5 separate regions of the Homo sapiens genome follow, and regions 1, 2, 3 and 4 are each linked to region 5. Evidence: promoter capture Hi-C in 16 types of primary human blood cells and fetal thymus (Javierre and others, 2016). All regions are on one chromosome and are shown on one strand. The core of a region is centred on a gene start or on the middle of the fragment in contact, and the rest is flanking DNA. Distances in the headings are between cores, read along the strand shown. Region 1 holds the start of OR4D6 (olfactory receptor family 4 subfamily D member 6). Region 2 holds the start of OSBP (oxysterol binding protein). Region 3 overlaps GLYAT (glycine-N-acyltransferase). Region 4 holds the start of TRV-TAC1-1 (tRNA-Val (anticodon TAC) 1-1). Region 5 holds the start of FAM111A (FAM111 trypsin like peptidase A).

The links. The method cuts DNA at HindIII sites, captures the fragments that hold promoters and counts their contacts. A CHiCAGO score of 5 or more calls a contact.
Region 1: a contact is called between the fragment with the promoter of OR4D6 here and the fragment with the promoter of FAM111A in region 5, in 5 of 17 cell types (M2 macrophages, neutrophils, naive B cells and 2 more). The highest score is 6.1, in M2 macrophages.
Region 2: a contact is called between the fragment with the promoter of OSBP here and the fragment with the promoter of FAM111A in region 5, in 1 of 17 cell types (non-activated CD4 T cells). The highest score is 5.0, in non-activated CD4 T cells.
Region 3: a fragment that was not itself captured here is called in contact with the fragment with the promoter of FAM111A in region 5 in 2 of 17 cell types (non-activated CD4 T cells and naive CD8 T cells); the score reaches 5.9 in non-activated CD4 T cells.
Region 4: a fragment that was not itself captured here is called in contact with the fragment with the promoter of FAM111A in region 5 in 1 of 17 cell types (total CD8 T cells); the score reaches 6.3 in total CD8 T cells.

The regions. Positions count from the first base shown.
Region 1 is chr11:59,455,639-59,458,338 of GRCh38, forward strand. It overlaps OR4D6 (olfactory receptor family 4 subfamily D member 6), which reads left to right and starts at 1,323. Exons shown (of 1, transcript NM_001004708.1): 1 at 1,323-2,267. The coding sequence starts at 1,323. The coding sequence ends at 2,267. The HindIII fragment of the contact is 6,869 bases long and covers 919-2,700 here.
Region 2 is chr11:59,614,497-59,617,196 of GRCh38, forward strand. It overlaps OSBP (oxysterol binding protein), which reads right to left and starts at 1,278. Exons shown (of 14, transcript NM_002556.3): 1 at 807-1,278. The coding sequence starts at 1,168. It overlaps LOC101927226 (a long non-coding RNA gene), which reads left to right and starts at 1,458. Exons shown (of 3, transcript XR_001748237.2): 1 at 1,458-1,679. RefSeq lists silencers at 911-1,130, 1,151-1,450 and an enhancer at 1,651-1,740. The HindIII fragment of the contact is 16,614 bases long and covers 1-2,700 here.
Region 3 is chr11:58,723,885-58,726,584 of GRCh38, forward strand. It overlaps GLYAT (glycine-N-acyltransferase), which reads right to left. Exons shown (of 6, transcript NM_201648.3): 2 at 532-627. The coding sequence starts at 612. Among named protein-coding and RNA genes, the nearest start is that of GLYAT, 6.7 kb to the right of the region's middle. The HindIII fragment of the contact is 3,793 bases long and covers 1-2,700 here.
Region 4 is chr11:59,548,013-59,550,712 of GRCh38, forward strand. It overlaps TRV-TAC1-1 (tRNA-Val (anticodon TAC) 1-1), which reads right to left and starts at 2,689; the gene lies at 2,617-2,689. The region is part of intron 3 of LOC102723575 (a long non-coding RNA gene); the gene reads left to right. RefSeq lists enhancers at 2,286-2,505, 2,661-2,700. The HindIII fragment of the contact is 947 bases long and covers 962-1,908 here.
Region 5 is chr11:59,141,480-59,144,179 of GRCh38, forward strand. FAM111A (FAM111 trypsin like peptidase A) reads left to right here and starts at 1,377. Exons shown (of 6, transcript NM_001312909.2): 1 at 1,377-1,467; 2 at 1,604-1,825; 3 at 2,018-2,216. It overlaps FAM111A-DT (FAM111A divergent transcript), which reads right to left and starts at 1,329. Exons shown (of 4, transcript NR_110184.1): 1 at 1,136-1,329. It also overlaps the pseudogene LOC100422399. RefSeq lists an enhancer at 1,145-1,594. The HindIII fragment of the contact is 3,476 bases long and covers 1-2,700 here.

The sequences.
Region 1 (2,700 bases), core at 73-2,572, 310 kb after region 5:
CACTTCTAAAGTAAGAAACATTAGACTAATTTATCTCTGAAGTCCTGTGACGCTCTAATGATCAGTTTTTCTGTGATACTAAAACATGCCCTGAACAATGACTGTGGCTCTATACAAAGAGCCCTGTGTGTCAATAGCAAGGTCCAGGCTTCCCAGAGTGCCAAAGAGGAGTACTTATGAGGGCCTGACCCTTCTCTTTTTATAAGGGATGAGATAAGGATTAGGTAGTCAAACTACTTAATAAACTGTTTAAGCCTTATATACACACTAGAATTCCGGTAAGCCAAAGTAAGCCCCAGACTCTCTGATTTCTCAGAGTTGTACAGTGGAAAAACCTCTGGAGACTGTTATGTTAAAGAAAAATTATTCACCAGACAATTATTAAAGACAGGAAGATAGATTTCATTTAAAACTCTTGCAATAGAAGAAAAAGATTGAGCTCAACTCGAAATATAGTGAAAACAAGTGAAGATTTATAAGCAATGAGCAGAGTGAGGGAGGTCAGTGGATTGAAAATTACTAAGAAGTGATATCAAAGGTAGGGTGGTTCTTGCTAAACTGGCATAAAAGAATTCTTGCTAAAGACTGGCCAAGGACTTAGATATTGAGGGTGAGGGATGAGGTTAAAAATAATAAATATATAAAAGGGTAAGGGGTGAGGAATTTGATTAGATTTCAAGGGTGTGGAATTCTCATTAAACTGACTTGGCAAGATTCCTGTTAAAATTGGGCTCAGCAAAGACAGACACAGAAGGTCAAGGTTGAGTCATAGTCAAGAAAAGGGCTCAGAGGAGCCTAACCAACATTTGGTCAAGGAGGGAATCTTTCTCAAGTCAGGAGATTGATTTGTATTTGAATCCTCAATTTACAATTCACTAATTTTGCGACTATGCAGATGTAAGTCATTAACTGCTGTAAAGCTTCAGTTTCCCCGTATATAAAATGGAGATAACCATACTAAAGACTCTTCAGAAACTTCATGAGAATTGAAATCAGTATGAGCTATTGCAGGTGAAAGCCCTTGGTAAAGCATAGGCAAATGGCCATAGTCCATCCATCTCTCTCTGGTCAGAGTGAGGATACAGACATGTGATGGTTTTTTCCTGTTAACCCAAGGTATTTACAATAAGAAAGAAGAACCATATGAAAGAAGAATTTCCAGACCACAAAGAGAAGACTGGCCCAGTTTTTCTGTGTAGTCATGATGACCTGGATGCTTGAGAGCAGTATGTGATCAATGATTTTGCCACCTCATGTCACCATAATCCAAGTTCTAACATATCTTCATCAAAGGTAGGACCTGGAAGAGAGTCATCCCCATCATGGACCAGATCAACCACACTAATGTGAAGGAGTTTTTCTTCCTGGAACTTACACGTTCCCGAGAGCTGGAGTTTTTCTTGTTTGTGGTCTTCTTTGCTGTGTATGTAGCAACAGTCCTGGGAAATGCACTCATTGTGGTCACTATTACCTGTGAGTCCCGCCTACACACTCCTATGTACTTTCTCCTGCGGAACAAATCAGTCCTGGACATCGTTTTTTCATCTATCACCGTCCCCAAGTTCCTGGTGGATCTTTTATCAGACAGGAAAACCATCTCCTACAATGACTGCATGGCACAGATCTTTTTCTTCCACTTTGCTGGTGGGGCAGATATTTTTTTCCTCTCTGTGATGGCCTATGACAGATACCTTGCAATCGCCAAGCCCCTGCACTATGTGACCATGATGAGGAAAGAGGTGTGGGTGGCCTTGGTGGTGGCTTCTTGGGTGAGTGGTGGTTTGCATTCAATCATCCAGGTAATTCTGATGCTTCCATTCCCCTTCTGTGGCCCCAACACACTGGATGCCTTCTACTGTTATGTGCTCCAGGTGGTAAAACTGGCCTGCACTGACACCTTTGCTTTGGAGCTTTTCATGATCTCTAACAACGGACTGGTGACCCTGCTCTGGTTCCTCCTGCTCCTGGGCTCCTACACTGTCATTCTGGTGATGCTGAGATCCCACTCTGGGGAGGGGCGGAACAAGGCCCTCTCCACGTGCACGTCCCACATGCTGGTGGTGACTCTTCACTTCGTGCCTTGTGTTTACATCTACTGCCGGCCCTTCATGACGCTGCCCATGGACACAACCATATCCATTAATAACACGGTCATTACCCCCATGCTGAACCCCATCATCTATTCCCTGAGAAATCAAGAGATGAAGTCAGCCATGCAGAGGCTGCAGAGGAGACTTGGGCCTTCCGAGAGCAGAAAATGGGGGTGAGCAGTCAGATGGAGAGTGGAAGTCTGTCTGACTTAGTTTTCTCAAAATGCTAGCCTAAGAGTAACAGGTCGCTAGCTCTTCTTCCACTACTTCATTGTATATCTTCATAGCCGCTCGATTCTATTAGCGGGAGTATACAAACAAAAAGAAGAAATGAGATTAAACAATGTGAGCTATCGAGCTTGTGGACTCAGGAGAAGAAGAGGGTATAAGGTTGAAATCAATACCCTAAATGCTTTTTGGTGTTACCTGTGACTCATACCAACACTTATCTCACTTTTAGCACCAGTAATATGGAAATATCATTACTTGCTCACAAGTTTGTCAAAAGAATGAAATGTGATCAATGCTGTGAGGATGATAGTTGTGAAGGTTAGTACTGCTCCTGGCATTAATCAGGTATTCAATCAACATTCCCTATTACCTACCCCTC
Region 2 (2,700 bases), core at 28-2,527, 470 kb after region 5:
ACCATAAATATATATTAAACAGTCCAAAATAAACCTTGTTGAACAGAAGTAATCACACCAAAGACATGGATTCTTCTTTTAATAAAAGTTAATCCTAACTAACCAAAAAATCACAGAAATGCCAGATAAAACACTTAATCATTTCCACGGGAGGAGGTGGGGCAAGCAAAAATAAAAGCAGCACTGGGGTGCACATCTCCATTCTGGGCTGTCCAGAGGCCAAAGCACATGCAAAGTCTTGGAGAGATAAGGCAGAAAGGGGACGGAATACCGAAGCCACCCTGTGTGTGTGATGCCCTTATGTCTGAATGTGAAGGGAGCAAGGACGGGTACATCCAGAGCTACGAATAACCTTGAGTTTTGGAGACTGGGCACTGACAGCTACAACTTGGGACTTCCACTGTAAGTTCCTTGGGAGGAGTGCCTCGGGTTTGTTCTGCTGCATGTGTTCCCTTAGTACCTACACCAGTGCCTTGCTTGCAGAATTAATAATTGCACCCATGTGCTGGTGGAAATACAATGGAAGCACAGACGCTCTCCAAACGACTAATGACTGGAAAGGCCGGGAGCGAAGGGAAGATAAGGCACCAAGAGTGGGTAACCCGAGGGGAGGGGAGGTGTACGTCCAGGGGCTTTTCACTTTCGTGACAGTGGGCTCCGACCCCTGGGCTGTCAATCCGCACAGATGACGAAAAGGGGCCTGGGGCAACCCTGGCTGCGGTGCCGGCTGGCGGTAATGCCGGAGCTGGGACTGTTGGCAGATATGGGGGAGGCAAGGTGAGCGACAGCGCCCCGGAAGCAGTTACCTGTAGTAGCTCAGGAGCCCGTTGCTCAGCACGAACCATCGCCGCTGGTAGCCTTTGATATAATTGGTCCATTTGAAGAGCCAGCCCTCTCGAGCCGAGCCCGAACCCCCAGCGCCCGAGCCGCCCGAGCCCCCAGTCGGCGGCGCAGGGGCCGGGCCAGCCGCCGCCACTCCCCCGGCCCCCGGGCCCGGGCCTCCCGCCGCCGCCGCGACCACCGTCCCTGACGCGGCCCCGGAGCCTGGCCCCGCATCTCCGCGGCCGCCGCCTCCTCCCACCACTGGGGGACCGGCGCCGCCGCCGCCAAGTGCTGCAATGGCTGCCGGGCCTGGCCCCACCACTCCTCTCAGCTCCGTCGCCGCCATGAGCCGCCGCCGCCTGGAGATACAAGACCGGAACCGCCTACGAGAGCCGCCGTCGCCGCCCGGAGCGCCCCACACGGCTACCGCATCAGCCACCGCCGCGCAGCGTCCCCGCCCCGCCCGGCCAGCCGCGGGGAGGAGGGCTCGGCCGCCGGGAAGAAGGACGTCGATTGGTGCCGCTGAGTGTCACTTGAGGAAGACCCCGCGGATATTGGCATTTCTCTCGGGCCTGTCATTCTACAGCGCCCAGTGAGAGCCTGGGGTGGGACGCGTCCGCCAGACCCACCTTTGATTGGTTCAGATAAAGGCCAATCAGACTTTTGGGGAAGCTCATTGGTGCTTTCCTGAAGTTTCCAGCGCTCAGGGAGGACGGGAGAATGCGGAATGCCCGGCCAATCTGATCGCCGATTGGCTGCTGTTTCCGCCATTCATTTCAGTTTATGCGCCTGTCACTGCCACGTCACCCCCTCCCATCGCTCTTCTCATCATCCTTTTCCGCCCTCATGGATTGGTGGTTGGTATCAGCTGCTCCACCTTTTCTACCATTTACTGAACGAGTTGAGGAAAAAGGGAAGGAGTCTCGTCTTTACATCCTTATTTTCTTTTTTTATTGGTTGGCACCTATGCCACTCACGTGGTGGAGAGGCGGGGCAATAGTTGGAGATGATTGGTTCTGAGAATTGGCTGTGAAAGCGGCATTGCTGACCAGTGAGAGAGACCTAATGAGGAGCAGGCCGGGGCAACCAATGAAATCGGAGAAGAGCGCTTGGGGGCGTGTCCGCCTGCTTTCAGCCTTTGGCAAGTTGGTGGGAGGTGAAAGTGACTTGGCCTCTTAAAAGCGTTTTTTTCACGTGGGTGTGATGTCGTGTTCCGTTTTTCTGAATAAGAACTTCGTAGCTTCTTGTTAGGAAGAACCTGGAGGACAGAGTAACTCTCGGCAGTCAGCCCCCGCCTGAGGCTCTCTTGAAGGACCCCCTTCTAACTCGAAGCTGGATACCCAGATTCCAGGGGTGCCCAGAAGTAGCTTTTCCAGCCCCTTCCTGGATCCATGGTCCCCCTAGTTCCCTTCCCTGTTTGCTCTTTATCGCTCCACACCCCTTGTGTCTTGATTCTAGACTGTCATATGCCTATACCGATTCTGTCCCCTTCAGAAGTAGATTCGCGAGGACCTGACTTTATGTGTCTCTTCCAGACCTAAAGGCCCTTGGTTTTAGCATCATAGGTGCCATGTATATGCTTAACTTTGAACAGAAAATTATTATTTTTTGTATCTTTAAACTGATATATCGTAGTTGTACATATTTAACTTTGGACAGAAAATTTTTTTTATATCTTTAAACTGATATAGTTGTACATATTTTCAGGGATACATCTGATATTGTGATACATGTATTCAATGTATAATTATCAAATCAGTGTAATTGGGATATCCATCATCTCAAACATTATCTTTGTGTTGGGAACATTTTCTGCTATGCGTTCTCTTGTAGCAGGAAATCGTTATTTTTGATCAACTGACTATTCACACATTTGTG
Region 3 (2,700 bases), core at 183-2,682, 420 kb before region 5:
AACTCGACCTGCCTTCAATTCAGAGCAATTGGGAAATTTACATTAAAATAGAAATTGATCTGTTATTAATTTCAAAGAAGACTCATTCTAGTTAACCTCTCACTGGCAAGTGTCCTTTTGTAATAAACAAGTTAAACATTAATATGCAGCCTCAGCCAACTTTGTAGAACTCTGGGCAAATTTCAAATGTTATTATAAAATGCTTCTTGGAAAGGAGCAAGGAAGTAATTTTTTGAGTTAGCACAGAGCAAAAGGCAGTGTTTAGACTAAGGCATAACTATGTTCATATCATAGCATTGCAACTCAGTATTTGTGATATATTGAGAAAATCAGTTAACTGAGTCTTCATTTTCTTAACAGCAACATGGACATGACAGTAAACATCTTGTAGAGAGGTAAGGCATACTAAATGAGAGAAAACATGAAATAGTGCCTGGCTCAAAATAGGTGCATCATAAATATCAGTCCCTTTCCCTCCTCTTTCACATCAAGTTTGTCTTCTTTACTCCTCTCAGAATTTTCCATTATCACCTTTAAGGATGCTGGGAGGCTCTTCCTCAAGGATTTCTCCAGCATCTGCAGCATCTGGGCACCTTGCAATGGTAACATCATGGAGGATACCTTAGCCTAGAAAGACAACCAAGGAACATACAGGATTGAGAAAAGCTAGAGGAGATTCTGAAACAAGAGTAGCAAGTTCTTTATTAATGACCAGGTTTTTTTTTTTTAGTGCCTTTCAACTGCAGTCCTCAGCAAATCCAAGAGAAAATGAGACTCGTAGAAAACACAAGGAGCTTTCTCTGAGTTTTTTAGCTCTTTTTTCTTACCCTTTGATGAATTCCAGCCATTAATTTCATTTTAGATTTAAAAAGTACATTTTTAAATACACATAATATCTTTTGAATTTTAGTTGCTATTAGTGATTCTCCTGACTCCTCTGAGAACGAGCTGTGTAACCTTGGGAAAGTTATTTAGTCTCTCTGTACCTTGGTTTCCTCAAAGGTAGTTGGGATAATAGCACTATATCACTCAGAATTTTTGTAAGGATTAAAGGAATGAATACCTGCAATGTGCTTAGTAGATTGTAGGTCTTATATTAAGCACTGAACATTTGTTATTTATTTGATTACTACCACCACTCCTCTTTTCCTCCTCTTCCTTTTCTTCTTTCCCCCACTTGAGCCAAAGTCCTATATATTGCATGATGTTTTGATATAGGCATTTTAATAAAGGGCATTCTGACATGGTCTAAATATAAACAATTAACCTTTCAAAAATTATTACTGCATCATATTCAAAACTTGTACTTTCACCAAGCCTCACACTTTGAGGCTAATTCCATCTTTAAGCCTTATACTAGGATCTGTGGTACATTTTGTAGAAATTACTAAGTAATACAAAAATAGCATTTTTACATATTTGACTAGCTGCATCAAATTGGGATTACCTAAACACTTCATAACATCACAACTACCTGAAAAATGAAGAAAGATGTTGTGTCACTGTGTTCTATTTTGGAACTGTGATGTTTGGAAGAGAGCAAAGTAACTTCTAAGTGAAGGTAGGGCTATGAGAGAGTGTTGCATTAAAACTGGTCTGATGCAAGATTCCATAACTAGGTAACCTTGTGATTTTAGAACATCAGTGAAAAGCCTTTACTGGTGGTGCATCTGTACAGGTCTGTAGCATCCTCAATTCTTGCCTCCTCAACAGAAAGAATTTGACTGAGGGGCAGAAGGCAGAAGGAGAGACCAAGGCAAGTTTTGGGGTAGCAGTAAATGTTTGTTAAAAACATCAGAGCAGGAGGGAAAAGAAGTAAAGTGCATTTGGAAGGGGGCCAAGTGGGCGACCTGAGAGATCAAGTGTGCAGTTGGACCTTTTGACTGAGTTTTATATGTAGGCATAATTTTGGGGTCTTGTGTCCATTCTCCCCTGATTCTTCCCATGGGGGTGGGCTGTCCACATGTTCAGCAGCCTGCTAGCATGTGGGAGGTGAGCATGTGTAGTGTGAGCATAGAGTTGTATGCATGCTAACTTAAGGCATTCTCCCTTACCAGTCAAATGTCCCTAGAAGTTCATATCATAATTAAACTCTGTCATTTTGCCTCTGAATGCACATGCTTAAGCCTGCTTGCCCAACTCCTGAGGTCTTGTCAGGAAGCTGCTGATCACCATTTTCAGGTTTGGTTTTTTTTTGTATTCGGAGACTGAACCTGGCTGGCACTGGCTGTGACCAATTATTATTTTAGAGAGACAGTTAACAACCACTGGACCATCACCTGATGGTTGCCTGACATATCTGGGTGTGGGATGTGGGGCATGGAGCCTTCTCCTGCCCTACTCATGCCTGACTATCTACCTTGTGTAACATTTCCCCCACCATGAGTTCAAGACCCCAATTATTTGGGGAATATAGACAAAGGTCAGTCTTCTATAACTGCTTCCTGCTGACAGAGGGGTAGTAGTGGTTGTTCTGTGGATTTGGCCTCTTGCTAGCTGTCAGGGCAGTAGTAGCCAGCCAGGTTCAAGGGGGACAGGGGGAGGATTTCAATTCTGTCATGTCTCACTGATGGGCAGCCTAGGGGTCCCCTGTAGAAGGGTGACTCTTGAGTATTGAGAAGACAATATACCTGCCTCTGGTCCCTGCATTTCTACTTTTTCTTAGCCCTGTCCTCCTTATTCTGTTCTTCATTATAAAAG
Region 4 (2,700 bases), core at 185-2,684, 410 kb after region 5:
TGGGAGTGTCTTTTAACATGTTAATGCAGTATAATTAGCATATAATGAGCAGTGAGGGCACCAGAGGTCACTCTCTTTGCCATCCTGGTTTTGTGGGTTTTGGCCAGCTTCTTTACCACAGCCTGTTTTATCAGAAAGGTCTTTATGACCTGTATCTTGTGCCGACCTCCTATCTCATCCTGTGACTTAGAATGCCTTAATCTCCTGGGAATGCAGCCCAGTAGGTCTCAGCCCTATTTTACCCAGCCCCTATTCAAGATGCAGTTGCTCTGGTTCCAAGGCCTCTGACAGAAGGTTGAAACATTAGAAAATGTTTAACTATACAACAATCAGGAGAAAATATAGAATAATTTTTGAAATATAATCTCAAAGTGAGTAAGTATTTTCTAGGCAGGAAATGTTAAAAGCCCCTCTCCTGCACCCCCCCCAAAAAGATGATGAAATTGACTTCAAAAAAATGTTTAATTTCTACATCGCACGGAATATCAAAAATATAATCAAAAGACAAATGGCAACTCTGGATACATTTGCAAAATATATCCTAAATCTGAATTTACAAAGAGCACCTAAAAACCTATTTATTTATTTATTTATTTAGAGACGGAGTCTCGCTCTGTCACCAGGCTAGAGTACAGTGGCACGATCTCGGCTCACCGCAACCTCCGCCTCCCAGGTTCAAGCGATTCTCCTGCCTCAGCCTCCTGAGTAGCTGGGATTACAGGTGCATGCCACCACACCCAGCTAATTTTTGTATTTTTAGTAAAGACAGGGTTTCACCATGTTGGCCAGGATGGTCTCGATCTCTTGACCTCATGATCCGCCCTCCTCGGCCTCCCAAAGTGCTCAGATTACAGGCGTGAGCCACTGCGCCCGGCCTAAAAACCAATTTAAACATAAATTAACAGAATATATACATAAGAAAATTGAACAAAAGAGGTGAACAGATAGTAGGAAGAAAGGAAGCTTTTAAGTACATGAAAAACGTTCAACCTAACTCACAATAAAAAAACACAAAATAAACCATTTCCAGCTGACTCAAAATTCAGTTATTTTCATTTGAGAGAGACAGGAAGAACAAGGGCTTTCATATTGGTGTGAGTGTAATTTGATACAAGCTGTTTTGAAAGGAGCTGTGGCAGGGTTGGTGGGGACGAGCAGGGAGGTTGGTGGGACGGGTTTGCAGAGGGCGTCTCACTTTTTTGCCCAAGCTGGTTTCAAACTCCTGGGTTCAAGCCATGCTTCCACCTCGGCCTCCCAAAGTGCTGGGATTACAGGTGTGAGCCAGTGCGCCCAGCCATCAATTAAATTTCTTCTGAGACATAAAGGCAACACTCTTCTTGCTTGGGTTGGTACTGTGTTCTGTCCCTGACCAGGGGTGTAACCCTGGGCCATTTCTTAATCTCATTATGCTTCCTCTCCCTCGTCTGTAAAACGGGATAAATAATAATAGAGACATTGTGAACATTAAGTTAGCTACCCATGTAAGTGCCTGTTCAAGGTTTTGCTAGGATTATTTTACATATTGCCCTGCCTGAAACCAAGGAACAAGGAAATCTGCTCAGCATTGTTCCTAAGACTAGATACAATTTAAGTGTTCATCAAAAGGCATAAAGAATTGTGATATATCCAAACACAGGAAGTAAAAGGATAAGCGAAGATGTATGAACGAAATAGGAAGATTTTCAGAATATTGTTGAGGAAATGGGAGCGGTACCTATGTGTGCTACCTTCGTACAAAAAGCGTGAAGTGGGTTTTAAAGTAAATGTACGTGTATACTGGTGAATGCATAGACAATTTCTGAAGGGTCACAAAAGAAACAGCTAACCATTGAAAGATGGGATGGAAACATCAGTTGTGAAATACGTGGAGGGATTCTGAATTCTGTGCATGAAATTAATTTTTCAAAAAGCTTTTTTTTTTTTTTTTTTTTTTTGAGACGGCTCTCTCCCAGGCTGGAGTGCAGTGGCGCGATCTCGGCTCACTGCAAGCTCCGCCTGCCGGGTTCACGCCATTCTCCTGCCTCAACCTCCCGAGTAGAGTAGCTGGGACTACAGGCACCCGCCACCACGCCTGGCTAATTTTTTTGGTATTTTTAGTAGAAACGGGGTTTCACCGTGTTAGCCAGGATGGACACGATCTCCTGACCTCGTGATCCGCCCGCCTCAGCCTCCCAAAGTGCTGGGATTACAGGCATGATCCACCGCGCCTGGCCTCAAAAAGCATTTTTAATTTAAATAAATAAAGTATGAGGGCGGCCTTCGTGATGTCCTTCGACTTAGTGGTGGCAATTTTTAGAGATGGCCCAAGCAAGGCTTAGGAGAAGGTAGGTGAGCCAAGGGGCAACACCCAGGAACCCAGAAGCCGGCTGGCCAGGTAGTGGAAAGGCGCAGGCGCAGGGGCGAGCGAAGCCTCGGTGGAGCGGAGCCGCCTGCACCTCCAGAGAGGCGCCATACGGGGGCCGCCGCGGAGGCCGACTCAGCGCCGAGCGCTAAGAGAAACCGGGCTGATGCAGCAGGCGGGAAACAAGCCGTAGAAATTCTTGAGACACGGGTTCGTCGCCAGCTTCCTGGTGCAAAACCCAACACCTGGCTCACAAAACGCTAGGTAACATCTCATGGTTCCACTGGGGCTCGAACCCAGGACCTTCTGCGTGTAAAGCAGACGTGATAACCACTACACTATGGAACCCCACACGACTA
Region 5 (2,700 bases), core at 127-2,626:
TTGCTGGGTTGAATGGTAGTTCTGTTTTTAAGTCTTTGAGGAATTGCCACACTGTTTTCCACAATGGTTGAACTAATTTACACTCCCACCTAGTATATAATCCTTCCTTTTGGAAACAAATTTTATCAGTATATTCAATTCTGAACACCCATGTTTTAGAAAATGTTAAGCCTATTGTCCTTTAATCACTATTTGCTTACACATTAAAATGTAAAACAGGCAAAAGAGAAAGAAGGAAGAAAGGAGGGAGGGAGGGAAGGAGAAAAGTGAGAAAGAAAGAAAGATAAAAGAAAAAAGAAAGAAGAAAGAAAGAAAGAGAAGAAATAAAGAGAAAAAAGAAAGGAAGAAAGGAAGGAAGGAATGAAGAAGAAAAGAAAAAAGAGAAAGAAAGAAGGAAAGAAAAAGAAAAAAAGAAAGAGAAAGAAAGAAAGAAAGAGAAAGAAAGAAAGAGAGAGAGAGAGAGAAAGAGAGAGAAAAGAAAATTTTCTCCAGATTAGAATTATTGGCTGCTATTGTTTGGATGCTGGGTACTAGCTGTGATTACCCTTTGTGAATGTAGGAATGCACAGATTCCAAAAGTGAGTCTCATAGAAAAAGTCAGCATTCAAATATGTTTTAAGGTTACTCTATCCAAACCCCAAAGAACCCACAGAAGATGAAGCAGTAATTTTAGCTTCTCTTGGTGTATTGTACATGCATTTAAGGCCAGTTCCTTCCTTCAAATTCCCATGTGTTTTGTAGTTACCAACACACCTTTCAACCCTATCTGTTTATATACATCATATAGTCCTCTGTCAATTGCATAAAAGTTGTCCCCTTTGTGACTGTAATCGCCTTTTCCAATACACATCTACTCAGAATGCAGGTCCTTAAACAGCAGGCTGCCTTGAAAACCCTCTCCAATCTTCTTCGATCATCAGCTTTGAGATGCATATTCCTAGAGCCCATATCATCTTCTTCATCACTATCATAAACGTCTCCACATATTGATGAACGTTTGGAGAATCGATTTATGACAAGGGAGTTTACTCTTCCTGCATCCGCGGCTTCTTCGTGATTTTGTCCTAGTCACCGGGCCTATCCCACCTGCTGGGGATGCCGCCCCCTCGGAAGTGCCTGAAATCTCCCCACTTACCCAACTAGCCTCAGCGCCTCCTGTGTGCTGCAGCAGATGGCGCGCTGCAGACCCCAGCCTGGTGCCTCCGCGACTCCTCCCCAACCATGATTTACAGGCGGGGACAGCCACATTCCTGCGCCCCAACTTCCACCTCCGCTTCCTGCGCGCGCGAGACTCAAGCTGCCACAGTGGCTCTGCCGCCAGCGTCCCAGCTCCTCCCACACCCGAGTTTTTATTTCCTGCTCCCTCTCCAGCCCGGCCCAGGCCAGCCTACCGGCGACTAGGATGCTTTCGCTTTCGCTCTCGCTTTCCAATACTCGGGACTGGGGAAACCGGGAGAATAGAAGCAGGCAAGGACCGCCGTGGGCACGGGGTCAGTGAGACAGGGTCCTGCTCGCGGCGTCAAGGAGGAGCGCTGTGGGTGGGTAGGGTAGGCGCGCCCCCTCGGCCTTGCCTTTCCAACCACTCTTTTTTGCACGCCAACAGGTGTCCCCAGCGCAGCCAATCGGCTTCCGAAGTAGGTGAGTTGCTGCCTGAAGAGAAAAGACAAACTCCAGTATCTTTCATTCCATTGGCCAGACGCGCCATTCCCCAAGTGAGTTCTGTTCTCCAACCAAAGTGCTGGATTCCAAGGGACTGGAAGGGAAAGTCCCTAAAAATCACGAGTTCAGGCGTCTGAGACTTGGTGGGAACGGACCTTCCTCTTAGGTGAGTTACTCTTTGGTTCTGGGGCTGACCTGGAGTTTTGCCAGGATTCATTGGCCGCAGCAGGATGCTGGTGGGGACAGGGTAAATAAAATCTGCACTCCTGCGGGCTTTTATTGTTGAAAGGGGCACTGACGCTCTCCCTGGAAACTTAAAAAGAACAGCCAAGTGAACGGATGTGTCTTTCTTTTGCAGTGCCCAAGCCTGTTCTAATTTTTAAAAACTGATGTCTATTAAGACCCAATGTTAACTTTATGAAAATGGTTCCTAAGGAGATTCACATCTCTGTGTCCGAATTCTGTGTGCAGCAAACATCATCTCAAGTGCGTTTTCCCAACTACGCTTCTTTCCAGGATAAAATACTCTAAGTGACAAATGTTGAGTACATTATCAGGTATGTTCACTATTGTGAGAACTGAAGCCATCTACACTCACATAGCTTGCCAACTACATTAACCTGACTTCTTATTCCATTATTTTCATCAACATACATTTACTATTTCAAGAAACTTTTGCCAGGGACCGGAAAGTTGCAAATATCTTTATTGCTTAATCCAGTATCTTCTTCAAAGATCCAACCACTCTTCAATGGAAAACATCAAAGAACAGTTTACATTCTAAGACTTTGAACCTTTACCTCAAAATCCTAGCCTTGTTTTATCTACCAATCCTAAACTTTTACCCGTAGCTGACTCAATTCTAACCAATTCCCCTCATTAAATATTAGACTTACAATGGGACTTCAAAATCTCAATACATATAGCCCAAACTTGCTCTTCCCTCTCTGAGACACCACTTAAATTCTGTCAAGTTATTGTTCTCCATTACCTAAGTGAGCAAGAAACTTAGCTTTGTCTTATCAACAGGTTGCTTTGATA